3 separate regions of the Homo sapiens genome follow, and regions 1 and 3 are each linked to region 2. The links are contacts of gene promoters, found by promoter capture Hi-C in blood cells and fetal thymus (Javierre and others, 2016). All regions are on one chromosome and are shown on one strand. The core of a region is centred on a gene start or on the middle of the fragment in contact, and the rest is flanking DNA. Distances in the headings are between cores, read along the strand shown. Region 1 overlaps SUPT6H (SPT6 homolog, histone chaperone and transcription elongation factor). Region 2 holds the start of DHRS13 (dehydrogenase/reductase 13). Region 3 overlaps FAM222B (family with sequence similarity 222 member B).

Region 1 (4,431 bases), core at 1,875-4,374, 200 kb after region 2:
ATGTGGAGTTTCTCGGGGTATGTTTGGTGAATAAATGGCACAGGGAGGGGGCTGCTGCCACCACTGCCACTCTATGCTCTCTCAGATGTAAACAGGTTACCCAGCTGGGAGAGAGGACATCTGCTGGCTGGTGTGGCGTCCAGCACTGATGTGTCTACCTTCTCTGAAGGTGGGTCCAGGAGACCTTTGACCCAGGGGATCCTCATCACCCCTCACCTGGGAAAGCTGACACCTGGTGGAAGCTTGGTCCTGAGGCAGGGAGGGAGGGAAGTGTGGTCCTGAAGCTGCCCCATCCTCAACCCATCCCCTACAGATGCCAGAGGGGACCCCTTTCTCAAGGCCGCAATCACCCCATTCGTTTATATAGAACTTTATGGCACATAAGTATCTTTGACATATGTGAATTGAGTCCGCCCAACAACCCTGCAAAATTGGTATGACCACCATCCCATTTTGTGGATGAGGAAATTAAAGGCTCAGAGAAGTAAAGAAATTTGCCCTAAGCCACCCGGCTAGTAAGTGACAGACCCACGACTTGGGCTTAGGCCTGACTACAAGTTCAGGGCACTTTGCCACTATGCTGCCCTTTGGCCCAGCTCAGCTGTGCTGAGGAAGGCCAAGGTGGTGGTGAAGTTTCAGGGTCCTGCCACATACCCATGCCTTCCTCATCTTCCCGGGGGATAAAGGGTACAAGAGGGGAGGAGAGAGACACAGATCACCCATGGGTCAGCAGTGTAGTGAGGACCCAGGACTTCACAGCCTTGTGTGGGGAAGGGAAGGAGGAAGAAATGTGGGTAAGCCTCAGGCCAAGCTGCTGCACTGTGAGGCCACTTGGACTCACACCCACAGCCTGGGCTCATTCCTGGCTGGTGGCCGGTATGAGGTCTCACCCTAGTTCCACTCCTCGTGGGGGCTGGCAAAGGCACAATCCTCGGCCTGTTTGAGGGTAACCCAGCCACAGCACCCCAAGCCAGTGCCTGCTCCCTCCCTCCCCTAGGAGTGCTGGGGAATCCGAGGTAAGGTCCCTTGTCCTTTGTCGTGTGAGTGAGATTCTGGGCTGTGAGAGGCGCAGAGTCGCCTCATGGGCTTACCTTTGAGATAGAGGCCTGAGGGGACAGCCGGGCCTTAGGCAGTGTCAGAGGTGAGGCAGTGGTGGTAGACCGGGGAAACTCCTGTCTTCAGGACTGGCATTGAGCTGAGCAGCAGAGGTGGGGGCCTTTCTCCAGGGCTTTTCCCTAACCCCAAATTCTCACCCCAGCAGCTTCTTCCTGTGCCCTGGGAAAGGGGATGTGGTCTCTGTGCTGCCTAAAAGGGTGCTTAGGCTGGGGGTGGGTCATTCGAAAGCCTGGGGCTCTAGGGACTGGGGAGAGTGTGGGAAGGTGCTGAGTGAAGAGCAGGGAAAGGATCAAGAAGGGGGCATGGGAAGGGAGGGGAGTGAGAAAGGTGTCAGGCAGGAGAAAAAAAGGGGCTTGAAGGAGAAGGGAGGAGGGGGAAGTGGGGAGGGAAGGACGAGTCAGAAGCTAAGGAGCATGATGCAGGCCTTAGCTCCTGGCCAGGCTGTGAGAGATCAGCGTGGGCCAGGGCAGGTGTAGGAACTGAGGATGCTGCGGCTCTGCTGCTCCTGGGGCTGTGGGGTGCCATAGCAGGAGGGCCTTCTCCTACCAGGCGCCTTGTGGAGCAGGGCTGCCACTCATTGTCAGCACCTGGTTGAGGGGCAGGCAGGAGCTGGTGGAGGCCTCCCACTGGAGGGAGAGGACAGAAGTAACAGGGAATCACAGGACTGCAGGGGGCTTGATAAGGGTCTCCTGTGTATCAGACATGGAACCAGACACTTTGCTGGGACATGGGGTTACTCTGCGGCCAAGTTACTACTACTGAAGCAGAAACACTTCTTGGGGTGGACAGCTGGTGGTGGCAGGTGAATTTGGTGAGGTTTTAGCTTGAGCTGTGGGAAGACCCAGAGGTCTGCGGCTGCTACTGATGACCCAGACTCCTGCCCCCTCAGGTGACTGCAAGGAGCCTGACAAGTGCTGCTGGAGACACAAGCAGTGCACTGGGCACATCATCTACCCTTTCGCCTCTGACTGTGTCCGCCACAGCCTGCACCTACACTCTGTCAACCACTGCAACTGTAATTCTAGGTGAGGGCCCGCCCCCTTGGGGGACCCATGGCAGAGCCAGGTCCGAACTTTCATTGTGGTCTCCCCTTCAACCTTTGGTTTGCCTCTTCAGCTTTGAATTGGTGCTGCCAGCCCAGTCCCAGCTCTGCACACCTTGCTCTGCTCTAAGAGAAATGGGGAGGAGGTCTGTTGGCCTGAGGCAGGCCCAGCGGAAGCCCACTGTCCCTCAGGCTTCTGGCTCTGGGTCCCTGGGGGAGTGATGGGAGCCAGGCTGAGAGTCCCATGTGTGGCAGGCTGAAGGACTCTTCAGAGGATAGCAGCAGCTCCCGGGGCGCGGGCCCAACCTGCTCCCATGTCATCGAGTCCCCTTGCTTTGAGCTCACACCGGAGGAGGAGCATGTGGAGCGATTCCGGTATGGCTGGTGAGTGAGCCCCGGTGGGCTGATGGGGAAGGGGCCTCTACAGGGCACTGCCCCCCACTCTCTGTCAAACTTCCCCCGTTGTCCCTTCTCCCAGGTGCAAAAGCTACAGACCTGTCTCTGTGGCAGTGATCCACCATCCACTCTACCATGAGTGTGGGGCAGATGATCTAAATGAAGAAGAGGAAGAGGAGGAGGAGGAAAGCAAGCCCCCCATCCCGACACAGGTGGGGCCCGCCACCGCCTCCCCTGACCTAGGCACCAGCATGGCCACTGGTACCCCTGACTCCACAGCGCCCATCACCATCTGGCGCTCTGAGAGCCCCACAGGGAAGGGTCAGGGCAGCAAGGTGATCAAGAAGGTAAAGAAGAAAAAGGAAAAAGAGAAAGACAAGGAGGAGATGGATGAGAAGGCAAAGCTGAAGAAAAAAGCCAAGAAAGGCCAGTTGACTAAGAAGAAAAGCCCGGTTAAATTGGAGCCTTCCCCGCCAGACGTGAGCCGATCATTAAGCGCAAGACAGCTGGCCAGGATGTCCGAGTCCAGCCCAGAAAGCCGGGAAGAGCTGGAGAGCGAGGACAGTTACAATGGCCGGGGGCAGGGAGAACTGTCCAGCGAGGATATTGTGGAATCATCATCGCCCAGGAAGAGAGAGAACACAGTCCAGGCCAAAAAGACAGGGGCAAAGCCCTCACAAGCCAGGAAGGTAAACAAGAGAAAATCTCCCCCAGGATCAAACCCCAACCTCAGTTGAGGCCAGGGTGGTCAGGGTGCAGAATAAATGCCATCGAGCCTGTGGCTGGCCCTCTGCTGCTGTTCTCTCCCTCCAACCTGGCTGTTTCTTGCGGGGCAAGGGGTGGGCTCAGGGCTGCAGGGGTTTCTCAAAGGCAATCCAGCTTTCACAAAGGAAGCCCATGGGAAGGCAGGTGGGAGGGAAAGGAAGGGGCACAGCCCTATTTCTTCCTACCTGCTAGGACAAGGTGGAAGAGTGTATCTGGGGTGGGAAGGAGGGCTTCCCCTCTCTGCTGCGAGAGACTGGTCTGTGTGAAATCCACTTCTGGGACAGGCAGTACTGTCTGCAGCGATACCCCCAATAAACGGAACTTTTTAACCCACTCTGTGCCACTGTGCCTGGCCTTTCCCTCCTCTAAGTGGCTCTGCAGAAGGTGCTCGTGGTACTACCAGAGACTGACCTTCCCAGCTGGTGGTCTAGCTCCTCCCTTGTAGCCCTTTTGTGCTGAAGGGAGCTGACTTGAGTTCCTGGCAGAGCTGGCCCCTTCCCCCAGATCTTGATGAAGAAAAACAAGGGGAGGGAGTGTGCCACGTCTGGGCAGCAGTGGCCTTTTCTGACTTCTCTGCTGAGCCCCAAGCAAAGGAAAGGGAGCCAGAGGCCCCACTCTCCCAGCATTGACTCACAGAGCTGTGAGACGAAGCCCTTGTGCAGAAACAGGGATGGCAGGAGTTCAGAACAAAAAATGCAGTGGGGCAGGGACAAAGGGCCAGGGCCAGTGTGTTGGAGGGGAGCAGGTGAGCAGGGCCCCATCCTGGGGCAGGAACACCTTACTGCTGAGAGCTTGCAAGAGACCAAGGCCCAGCTGGGAAAAGGGAAGAGATGAACGGCAGAGGCTCAAGTTGAGAAATCCAGATTTACTTGTGGCCTTTCTCCAGGGTGCCAGAGAAGACCAGCAGGCATGGGCGGATGGGGCAGCTGTGCTGTGGGTGAGTGAGTGGGTGTAATAATACCGGGTAACATTTGCGACGTACCAGGCGTTGGGCCAAGGAGCTTGCACACGCTGCCTTGGTCCTCACAGCAGCTGATGAGGCAGGTATCACTATCTCCATGTTACAGGTAAGAAAGCCAGCTGAAAGGCAGCAGGAACTGGCACAGGGTCAC
Region 2 (4,876 bases), core at 1,209-3,708:
TACATCTAGTGATGACATTTTTTCAATGTTTTTAAAAACCGTGTACAGTACTACATGTGGTAGAGCGTTTTCTCAAATTGTCTATTGTAGCAAAAATGTTTTTGTCGTAAACCTGTTTTGTCTCCTTTTTTTGTTCTCTTGCCACTTCTCTCCTCTTCCTCCTGCCCCTGGTTCCCTCCTCTCCTCCCACCCCCACAACCAGTACCAATGTACATAGTAATTGTAATGTTTTAGACTTTACAGAAACTTTCCTGTATTCTGTATATAAAAAACAAAAATACTTCAAATTGTTTTCTGACTGTCTGTCCTACCTGTCATCACCCTTAGAGGAGACCCTCCCCTAGATCTGGGTCTAGCAGGTGGGGGGCCTTTTGAACAGGTCTCATTCCCATAGGGAAGTTTGGTAGGGGAGGTGTTGGAGAAAAGTGAGCCAGGGTGGGTGGATGACAATGGAATGACATGGGTGCGTCTGCTGGCCCGGGGGGAGCTGTTTCTCCAGAGAACCCTGACTGATAGTGGAATCTAGTCTTGACCTGTCACTTCTAGTCATGTGATCTGCAGTCACACTTCTCTACAACTGCTATTCCTCATCAAAAAACGAGTCTGCTGCATTACCTTAATTCTCAAGTCCCGGGGACCTTCATTAAACCAAATTCCATGCTTTCCTCCCAGATCTTAGTGAAAAACTCTCCAGGAAGTTTTCCTGAGGTCAGCCTCCTCAGATGGAGAGCACCTCTGTGTATATTCCAGCACTGTTTGTGTAGGTGCATCTGCTTGTGTGTCAGGATTTTGCCTTAGGGATAGAAAATGAATATTCTACCCCCAGCCTCATCCCACAGCATCTACAATGGAAACCCGAATCCGCAGTGCAGCTAAATAGGAAACTGGCCCTGGAATCTGAGGTCTGTCCCTGACTTTCATCTGCCCATGCAGGCGTCATCACTCTGCTCCCGGTGCCCTAATGGGCTTTTTGAACTCCCTAAGGACAGAAACTTGTATATCTTCCACTCGGAATTTCCAAGTCTAACTACACTGCTGGGCACACCATAAGTGCCAAATACCAGGTTCTAAATTGTACTGAATGTATCAGGCAACGGCCTTCTGCCCTGGAATGGTCTTACCCATTTGTTCCTAGCCAGCCCCACCCTTCCTGCCATCATGGTCACTTGTAATTGAGTGATGGAGCTTCTCTGCCTGTCTCTTATCACCTATGAGAACCATTCCAAAGGCAAATTTCCTCCTGAAAGGCAATAACAGATTTTACTCTCTATCTCTTCCTGCTTCCCTTCAGCCATGGAAGGCACTAGTGGGGTTGAGGTAGGGAGATACAGAGGGGGAATGAAGGAGTGAATTCTGACACCCCTTAACTGCCTGTGCCACCTTTAACAGTGTCCTCTCTAGCCTGTGTGGGGAGAACACGGAAGAATCCTAGAAGCTGGGGGCTGGATGTGAAGATAAGAAAACGAAGGATTTGGCCCAGTGCAGAGGCTCACACCTGTAATCCCAGCACTTTGAGAGGCTGAGGCAGGTGGGTCACTTAAGGTCAGAAGTTTGAGACCAACCTGGCCAACATAGTGAAAACCCTTCTCTACTAAAATACAAAAATTAGCCGGGTGTGGTGTCACACACCTGTGATCCCAGCTACTCTGGATTCTGAGGCAGGAGAATTGCTTGAACCCGGGAAGCGGAGGTTGCAGTGAGCCGGGATCACGCCACTGCACTCCAGCCTGGGCAACGAGAGTGAAACTCCGTCTCAAAAGAAAGAAAGAAAGGAAAGAAGGAAGGAAGGGAGGGAGGGAAGGAAGGAAGGAAGGAAGGGAGGAAGGAAGGAAGGGAAGGAAGGAAGGAAGGAAGGAAGGAAGGAAAGGAAAGGAAGGAAAGGAGAAGGATTTGTGCAGAAGGGAAGGAAGGAGAAGGATTTGTTCTTAGAGGGAAAAGCATCTAGGACTAGACTCAAAGACACACGTGTATTCATGTACACACCTAACTTCAGAAGGGAGGGACTGTGCTACATACACCTCGAGTAAACATATGGAGATATGCAAGCACATGCACTGGCAGAGACTACAGATGCAGGCACATACCTGGAGGGACTCTGCCAGAATGCACACAAACACCTACAAGGTGCTTACAGGAGCTCACACACAGGATCCAGAGGCACGCACACAACCCAAAGGGTGATCCTCAGGGACATGGGCACATACACACCTAGAGATCATTCACATACAAGCGTTGCAGATGCATGCACATACCTAGCGTGCACTCACAGGGTGTACGTGGACACACACACCCAGGAGTTCACACAGGCACACACCTAGGGGGCGCTCCCAGGGCCCAAGCGCACACACTCACCTCAAAGGTGTCCACAGAGGCACACGCCCCCAGGACGCCGACGCACGCCTAGGGGGCGCTCGCAGGGCCGGCGCGCACCCGCACGCGCACACGCCCCTGCCCAGCCTCCTGCCCGCCTCCGCCTTCGGAGGCTGACGCGCCCGGGCGCCGTTCCAGGCCTGTGCAGGGCGGATCGGCAGCCGCCTGGCGGCGATCCAGGGCGGTGCGGGGCCTGGGCGGGAGCCGGGAGGCGCGGCCGGCATGGAGGCGCTGCTGCTGGGCGCGGGGTTGCTGCTGGGCGCTTACGTGCTTGTCTACTACAACCTGGTGAAGGCCCCGCCGTGCGGCGGCATGGGCAACCTGCGGGGCCGCACGGCCGTGGTCACGGGTGAGTGCGGAGGCGGGTGAGTGCGAGCTGGCGGGGCGCGCGGAGAGGAGGCCGGGCCGGCGGTAGCAGCGGCCCGCCGGGCTCAGCTCAGCTCGGCTCCCGCCCGCGGTCCGCAGGCGCCAACAGCGGCATCGGAAAGATGACGGCGCTGGAGCTGGCGCGCCGGGGAGCGCGCGTGGTGCTGGCCTGCCGCAGCCAGGAGCGCGGGGAGGCGGCTGCCTTCGACCTCCGCCAGGTGAGAGGCAGCGGGGGCGCGTGGGACGGTGAGCCGAGAACCCGCCGGGACACAGAGAAGCCAGCAAAGGGGCTGCGGAGGATCCGGGTCCAGGGAGGAGAGCGCGGCGCGGGCGGCTGAGCGCGAAGAGGGAGTGCACGGAGCGCTGGGGTCACCCGAGGAAGGCGCACCAGAGCCGAGTGGGGGAGGGGCTTCCTGAAGGCCGTAATTGCAGTTCTGAGACGTTTAAGCATCAGTAGAAGTTGGGTTAATGATCAGTAGGAAAGGGAACAGCAGAGGGCACAGCATAAGCAAAGGCTCTGAGGCAAAGAGAGCTGGACTGATCTGAAAAACTGAGAAAAAGATTTAATGAGGCTGGAGCACAAAGTATGAGGAAGATGGGCAAATGAGGGGGCTGGAGAACATTCTAGAGCCTATTGAGAAGCTTGGATTTTATAGATTGGGCAGCAGAGACCAGTGGAGACCATGAACAGCCCTCAGTAGGCTCCGGACTGTCAGAATAGCCTTTGGAAGGAACTCCTTTGTGGCTGCGTGGTGCCTGGAGTGGGGGGGCAAGAGCGGGAGAGAGGAGACCAGTGAGAAGTTACAGATTTTAGGGTAAATGGTAATGGGGAAAGGAGGTGATAATAATAATAGCAAGTACCTACCCAGTGCTGCTAGAGTGTATTTTACACGTTAACTCCTTTCATCCTCACAAAAGCTCAGTGAGATTGGGACTGTTGTTATTATTATTCCCTTTACGCAGTGAGAGAACTGAGACCCAGAGAGATTAAGTATCTTGCCCAAGGTCACACTTTAGTAAAAGGCAAAGTCAGGATTTGAATCCACACACTTATCTAGTACACTCTAAGACACAGGGGCAGATTTTAGTAAACAGTAGGAGATGGACTCTCAGAATTTGGTGCCTGGGGAGAGGGAAGAGGAGAGAGATGCCTGGTGACAAGCCCAGCCCTTGCCTCTCCACAGGAGAGTGGGAACAATGAGGTCATCTTCATGGCCTTGGACTTGGCCAGTCTGGCCTCGGTGCGGGCCTTTGCCACTGCCTTTCTGAGCTCTGAGCCACGGTTGGACATCCTCATCCACAATGCCGGTGAGGGGCAGCAGGCCCTGCGTGGGGGTGGGGTGGCGGGTGGCCAGGGGCAACTGCCCCCTCCAGCGGGGGCCCTGCTGGGGCCAGTGGACACATGGGAAGGATGCCCCCTTCTCCCATCTCATAGATAGGGATGCCAAGGCTGCAGAGCTCCTTCTGGAGCAGCCGCTCACATTTAGCCTCTGCCCCAGGTATCAGTTCCTGTGGCCGGACCCGTGAGGCGTTTAACCTGCTGCTTCGGGTGAACCATATCGGTCCCTTTCTGCTGACACATCTGCTGCTGCCTTGCCTGAAGGCATGTGCCCCTAGCCGCGTGGTGGTGGTAGCCTCAGCTGCCCACTGTCGGGGACGTCTTGACTTCAAACGCCTGGACCGCCCAGTGGTGGGCTGGCGGCAGGAGCTGCGGGCATATGCTGACACTAAGCTGGCTAATGTACTGTTTGCCCGGGAGCTCGCCAACCAGCTTGAGGCCACTGGCGTCACCTGCTATGCAGCCCACCCAGGTGAGGTCTGGTTCTTTGGCTTCCGATTCCCCTCTCCTTTCCTTGCCCCATCCTGTGCCCCCCACACCACTACCGCCTCCCCACCCTCCATCCCTCATTGAGTCACAGAATCTCAGGGCAGCAAGGAAGCATAGTCCAAGGAGAGACCTGTTCCTTGCTGCTCTTGGAACCAGGTTCTCCTGGTTTAGGTTCTTCCTCTCACACCACAAGCCTGGGTCCTCAGCCCTGGGGGGTATATGGCCATGAATAAGACCTGGATTCCCACCCCCAGGAGCCATCTGCACTGACTGAACTGATAATGATGATGATGATAGCTAATAATTCATCCA
Region 3 (4,475 bases), core at 1,707-4,206, 140 kb after region 2:
AAGGAGCTTGCATTGTTGACAGGGCTTCTTTCGCTACAGAAGGCCCCATCAATGTCTGCTTGCTTGGGCTGTGTATGTCTGGTTGGTAAACATCACTAATGAAACTCGTGCGGTCTTGACATGTCAGGATTGCCTGCACGAAGAGAGCTGCTGGCAGCCTTTCTCCTTGCTTTAGTCTGGGAGCAATGCATTTCTTTTGAGGGGGTGGGAGAGGTAGTTCAGGAGGTCTAATTGCATGTCAGGAAGGGTGAAGCCCCAGAAATTTGCAAACAGAATTTGCTTTAACAGTGGTTAATTGTGCCTCCTAGGATGCTTTCCTCCTTCCATTTAAAAGTGAGTTCGGCCGGGTGCGGTGGCTCATGACTGTAATCACAGCACTTTGGGAAGCTGAGGCGGGCGGACCACCTGAGGTCAGGAGTTTGAGACCAGCCTGACCAACATGGTGAAACCCCATCTCTACTAAAAGTACAAAAATTGGCTGGGCATGGCGGCATGCGCCTGTAATCCCAGCTGCTAGAGAGGCTGAGGGACGAGAATCGCTTGAACTCAGGAGTCAAGGGTTGCAGTGAGCCAAAATTGTACCACTGCACTCCAGCCTAGGTGACAGCAGAACTCTGTCTTAAATAAATAAATAAATAAGTAAATAAATGTAAGTTCATGGCCGGGTGCAGTGGCTCACACCTGTAATCCCGGCACTTTGGGAGGCCGAGGTGGGCGGATCAACTGAGGTCAGGAGTTCGAGACCAGCCTGGCCAACATGGTGAAACCCCGTCTCTACTAAAAATACAAAGAAATTAGCCAGGCGTGGTGGCGGGTGCCTTTAATCCCAGCTACTCGGGAGGCTGAAGCAGGAGAATCGCTTGAACCTGGGAGGCAGAGGTTGCAGTGAGCCAAGATCGCACCATGGCACTCCAGCCTGGGCAACAAGAGTGAAACTCCGTCTCAAAAAAAATAAAATAAAAGTGGGTTCATATTACTGGCTCACAAGTCAGACATTGGGTACCTTTGCAATCATATAATGTGCTGCTTCTGAAAATGTCTGGCTGGTCTCCAACCAGGCCTATAAATGGGCTGGCTGAGCCAGGCCCTATGAGGGCCCACTCTCCTCAGGAATACTGAGACATTATAAATGCACCTGTACTTTCCAGTTGTATGAATAGGTGCTTTCCAGTTTTATTTCTCCCATCCATACATCTGTGGTAACTGAAAAATCATTTTAACCATAGTGATATTTGACAGCAAATTGTCGTCACAGATAAAGATGTAAGTATACTTTCAACCAACACACTGCTAATTAAATTGCTTTATGTGTCTAAACTTGGGCCTCACGCCAGTCATATCCAGTGTTCCTACTCTCTTCTTCGAATGAGTTGCCTTGTGTTTCATGACCTTGTTTTTGTTCATTACAGTGTGAGCCACTGCCCCATGTTGTGTTGATGCCAATCTGCCATGCTAGCCTGTCTACCAGGGCCAGGTGACCTGTCCTTTCAGCTTCTTTCTCACACGCAGATGAACACTGGACTTCAGAAATGTAAGTAATCTGGATCCTATGGAGCATGTGTGATTCTTTGTTTTTGTCTCTACATTTGGGCCGTCCTTGAAGCACATCTGGGGTACACTGACCTTGAATTTTGACACCTTTCTTTTTTTTTTTTTTTTAAGACGAAGTCTTGCTCTTGTCACCCAGGCTGGAGTGCAATGACGCGATCTTGATTGGCTCACTGCAACCTCTCCCTCCCGGGTTAAGCAATTCTCTTGCTTCAGCCTCCCGAGTAGCTGGGATTACAGGTGCCCACCACCATGCCTGGCTAATTTTCTATTTTTAGTAGAGATAGGGTTTCACCATGTTGGCCAGGCTGGTCTCAAACTCCTGATCTCAGGTGATGCCCCTAACTTGGCCTCCCAAAGTGCTGGGATTACAGGTGTGAGCCACTGTGTCCAGCCATTAGGGGTCTGCTTAAATTCTGTAATTCCCCATTGTATCTCAATTTTAATTGTTGCTGATAGCTTTCTGTTGAACAACAAAACTATAAAGAGCTTCAGGGGAAATATATATATATATATCACCCTTAAAAAAGGTGTTTCAGTTTGAACCTTCATAGGGAATTGAATGAAAACTCACAGTCCAGATTACTTACTATATCTCTGAAATAAACTATGCTGTTCTCTTGTTTTGAACTCTCTTAGTAGTCTACCATGGAAACAGACAGTTCCCTTTGGCTTTGCTACCTGCCTTCTGAGTCAGTGTGACTTTAGTTCACAGGAAGTCAGGGAGCTTTTGCCCTCAGAAGAGATGGAGAGCTAGCTTTCTCAGTCTCTCTGGGCATTTTCCTGCTAATACACTTCCCAGAAGATTGAGCCTTTGAAAACTGTTAGATTCTTGTCTTAACTTTCTGGAATTGGGGTTTTATACTTCATATTTTCCCGGACTCCTTCCTACCTTCTCTCCCTGTAATACATGATCTGCAAGGAAAATATTCTATTCTTGGCACATTACCATGTATAGTATCTTCAGGTGTAAAAACAGCCCTAAATTTGGAATAGACCTTCCATTCAGAGCACAAAGGGGAAATCATTGAGGTGGCTAGGCTTCCCTTTGATAGGAAAGGTGCTTCAGCACCTTAACTGAACCCCTTATGACAGGGGTTAACAAACTTTCTGTAAAGCCCAGATAGCCAATAATTTAAGCTTTGTGGGCCATGTGGTCTCTGTTGCATCTACTCAACTCTGGCATTGTAGGGCAACGGCAGCCACAGACAATAAACAAATGAGGGTGTCTGTGTTCCAGTGAAACTTTTTTACAAAAAAACAGCAACTGGACCAGGCACGCAGGCTGTCGTTTGCCAGCCCCTGCCATGTGAGAACATCATCAGAAGTTAAAAATGGTCCAGCCTTTAGACTTCATTTCTTTGAGAGAGCGTAAGACTCAGAGCCTGGCTAGTTCTGGAATTTGGCCAGTGAATCCAGCTCTATGTAATAACAGCTGAAGGTGGTAGTCCTCCTTCTACAGTTGCCTGACACAATAAGGCAAGCTCTGCTATAGCTTTCTCAACCCATCCTTTATCTTAATAAGTGATGATTGGGTGATGAAGGTGTTATGTTATACTCTCTGGTCATCCAAATCAGCATCCTAACTGCATCGTGCCTATTTCTGGGCTTCTGGGGACACAACTGGAGAGGGAACGTACTTAGAGGCATGCAGTAAGATGACAAAGAGAAGCTTCCTTTGTTCTGGGTTCCTTAACACACTCTGACAGCTTTACCCAAAGATGTGATATCAAGGGAAAAGCCATTTGGAGGACGGGCAAATTGGCAGCTTTATCTTGGTGTTCACTTTTATTATTTTTATTTTTTTTTTAATTATTTTTTTTAGATAGAGTTTTGCTCTTGTTGCTAGGCTGGAGTGCAATGGCGTGATCTCGGCTCAACGCAACCTCCGCCTTCTGGGTTCAAGCGATTCTCTACCTCAGCCTCTTGAGTAGCTGAGATTACAGGCATGCACCACCACGCCCAGCTAATTTTGTATTTTCAGTAGAGACAGGGTTTCTTCATGTTGGTCAGGCTGGTCTCGAACTCCCGACTTCAGGTGATCCGCCTGCCTCGGCCTCTCAAAGTGCTGGGATTACAGGTGTGAGCCACCACACCCAGCCCACTTTATTTTATTTTATTATTTTGAGGAGGACTTTTGCTCTTGTCACCCAGGCTGGAGTGCAGTGGCACGATCTCGGCTCACTGCAACCTCCGCCTCCCAAGTTCAAGTGATTCTCCCGCCTCAGTCTCCTGAGTAGTGGGATTACAGGCATGAGCCACCATGCCCGGCCCTTTTTTTTTTTTTTTTTTTTTTTGAGATGGAGTCTCCCTCTGTCACCCAGACTGGAGTGCAGTGGCGCAATCTCGGTTCACTGCAACCTCCATCTCCCGGGTTTAAGCAGTGCTCCTGCCTTAGTCTCTCGAGTAGCTCAGATTACAGGCATGCGCCACTGGAAATTTTTTCTTTCTTAATCCTAAACCTCTGCTCTGTATTTCCCCTTCTCAGGATCACAATATAGTAGTGGCTCTGTAAATATTTACTGTTTGAATAGCTGATAAAAGGTCCTTGGTCCTTAAACCATCTTCAGATAACAACTTTGATTTCCTTCCATGGCAGAACACTGGGGCTCTGGGGACAAATGCCAAAATTACCTTCTTTTACTGCTTCTTTATGTGCATATCTGCCCCCTAGTGGAGGGGTCTGGAAATGGCAGATTGACCCAATGACTGGATAAAGTCATAGAAATAATAGCTAACATTTGTCAAGTTGCTACCATGTGCCAGGCACTATATTGAATATTTTCACATATGTTGTCACCCATTCCTCAAAAATTCCATATGGAAGACTCTCTTGCCTTTGTCAGAAGGATAAGGTATAGAGAGAGGGTTTGTCACTTGCCAGTGCCACATGACAGTCCTGTGACTGGCCCATACTCAGCTCAGAC

Evidence for each region. The method cuts DNA at HindIII sites, captures the fragments that hold promoters and counts their contacts. A CHiCAGO score of 5 or more calls a contact.
Region 1: a contact is called between a fragment that was not itself captured here and the fragment with the promoter of DHRS13 in region 2, in 7 of 17 cell types (activated CD4 T cells, total B cells, naive B cells and 4 more). The highest score is 6.9, in activated CD4 T cells.
Region 3: a contact is called between a fragment that was not itself captured here and the fragment with the promoter of DHRS13 in region 2, in 17 of 17 cell types (activated CD4 T cells, naive CD4 T cells, naive B cells and 14 more). The highest score is 34.2, in activated CD4 T cells.

Annotation. Positions count from the first base shown.
Region 1 is chr17:28,702,418-28,706,848 of GRCh38, reverse strand. It overlaps SUPT6H (SPT6 homolog, histone chaperone and transcription elongation factor), which reads right to left. Exons shown (of 37, transcript NM_003170.5): 37 at 4,170-4,431. PROCA1 (protein interacting with cyclin A1) reads left to right here. Exons shown (of 5, transcript NM_001366301.1): 2 at 86-169; 3 at 2,006-2,141; 4 at 2,414-2,542; 5 at 2,637-3,652. The coding sequence ends at 3,291. Among named protein-coding and RNA genes, the nearest start is that of PROCA1, 7.3 kb to the left of the region's middle. The HindIII fragment of the contact is 5,760 bases long and covers 245-4,431 here.
Region 2 is chr17:28,900,661-28,905,536 of GRCh38, reverse strand. It overlaps DHRS13 (dehydrogenase/reductase 13), which reads left to right and starts at 2,458. Exons shown (of 5, transcript NM_144683.4): 1 at 2,458-2,719; 2 at 2,836-2,954; 3 at 3,921-4,044; 4 at 4,236-4,547. The coding sequence starts at 2,593. It overlaps PHF12 (PHD finger protein 12), which reads left to right. Exons shown (of 15, transcript NM_001033561.2): 15 at 1-287. RefSeq lists silencers at 2,236-2,865, 3,367-3,559. The HindIII fragment of the contact is 5,010 bases long and covers 1-3,380 here.
Region 3 is chr17:28,763,642-28,768,116 of GRCh38, reverse strand. It overlaps FAM222B (family with sequence similarity 222 member B), which reads left to right. Exons shown (of 3, transcript NM_001077498.3): 2 at 1,410-1,531. The coding sequence starts at 1,450. Among named protein-coding and RNA genes, the nearest start is that of TRAF4, 22 kb to the right of the region's middle. The HindIII fragment of the contact is 532 bases long and covers 2,691-3,222 here.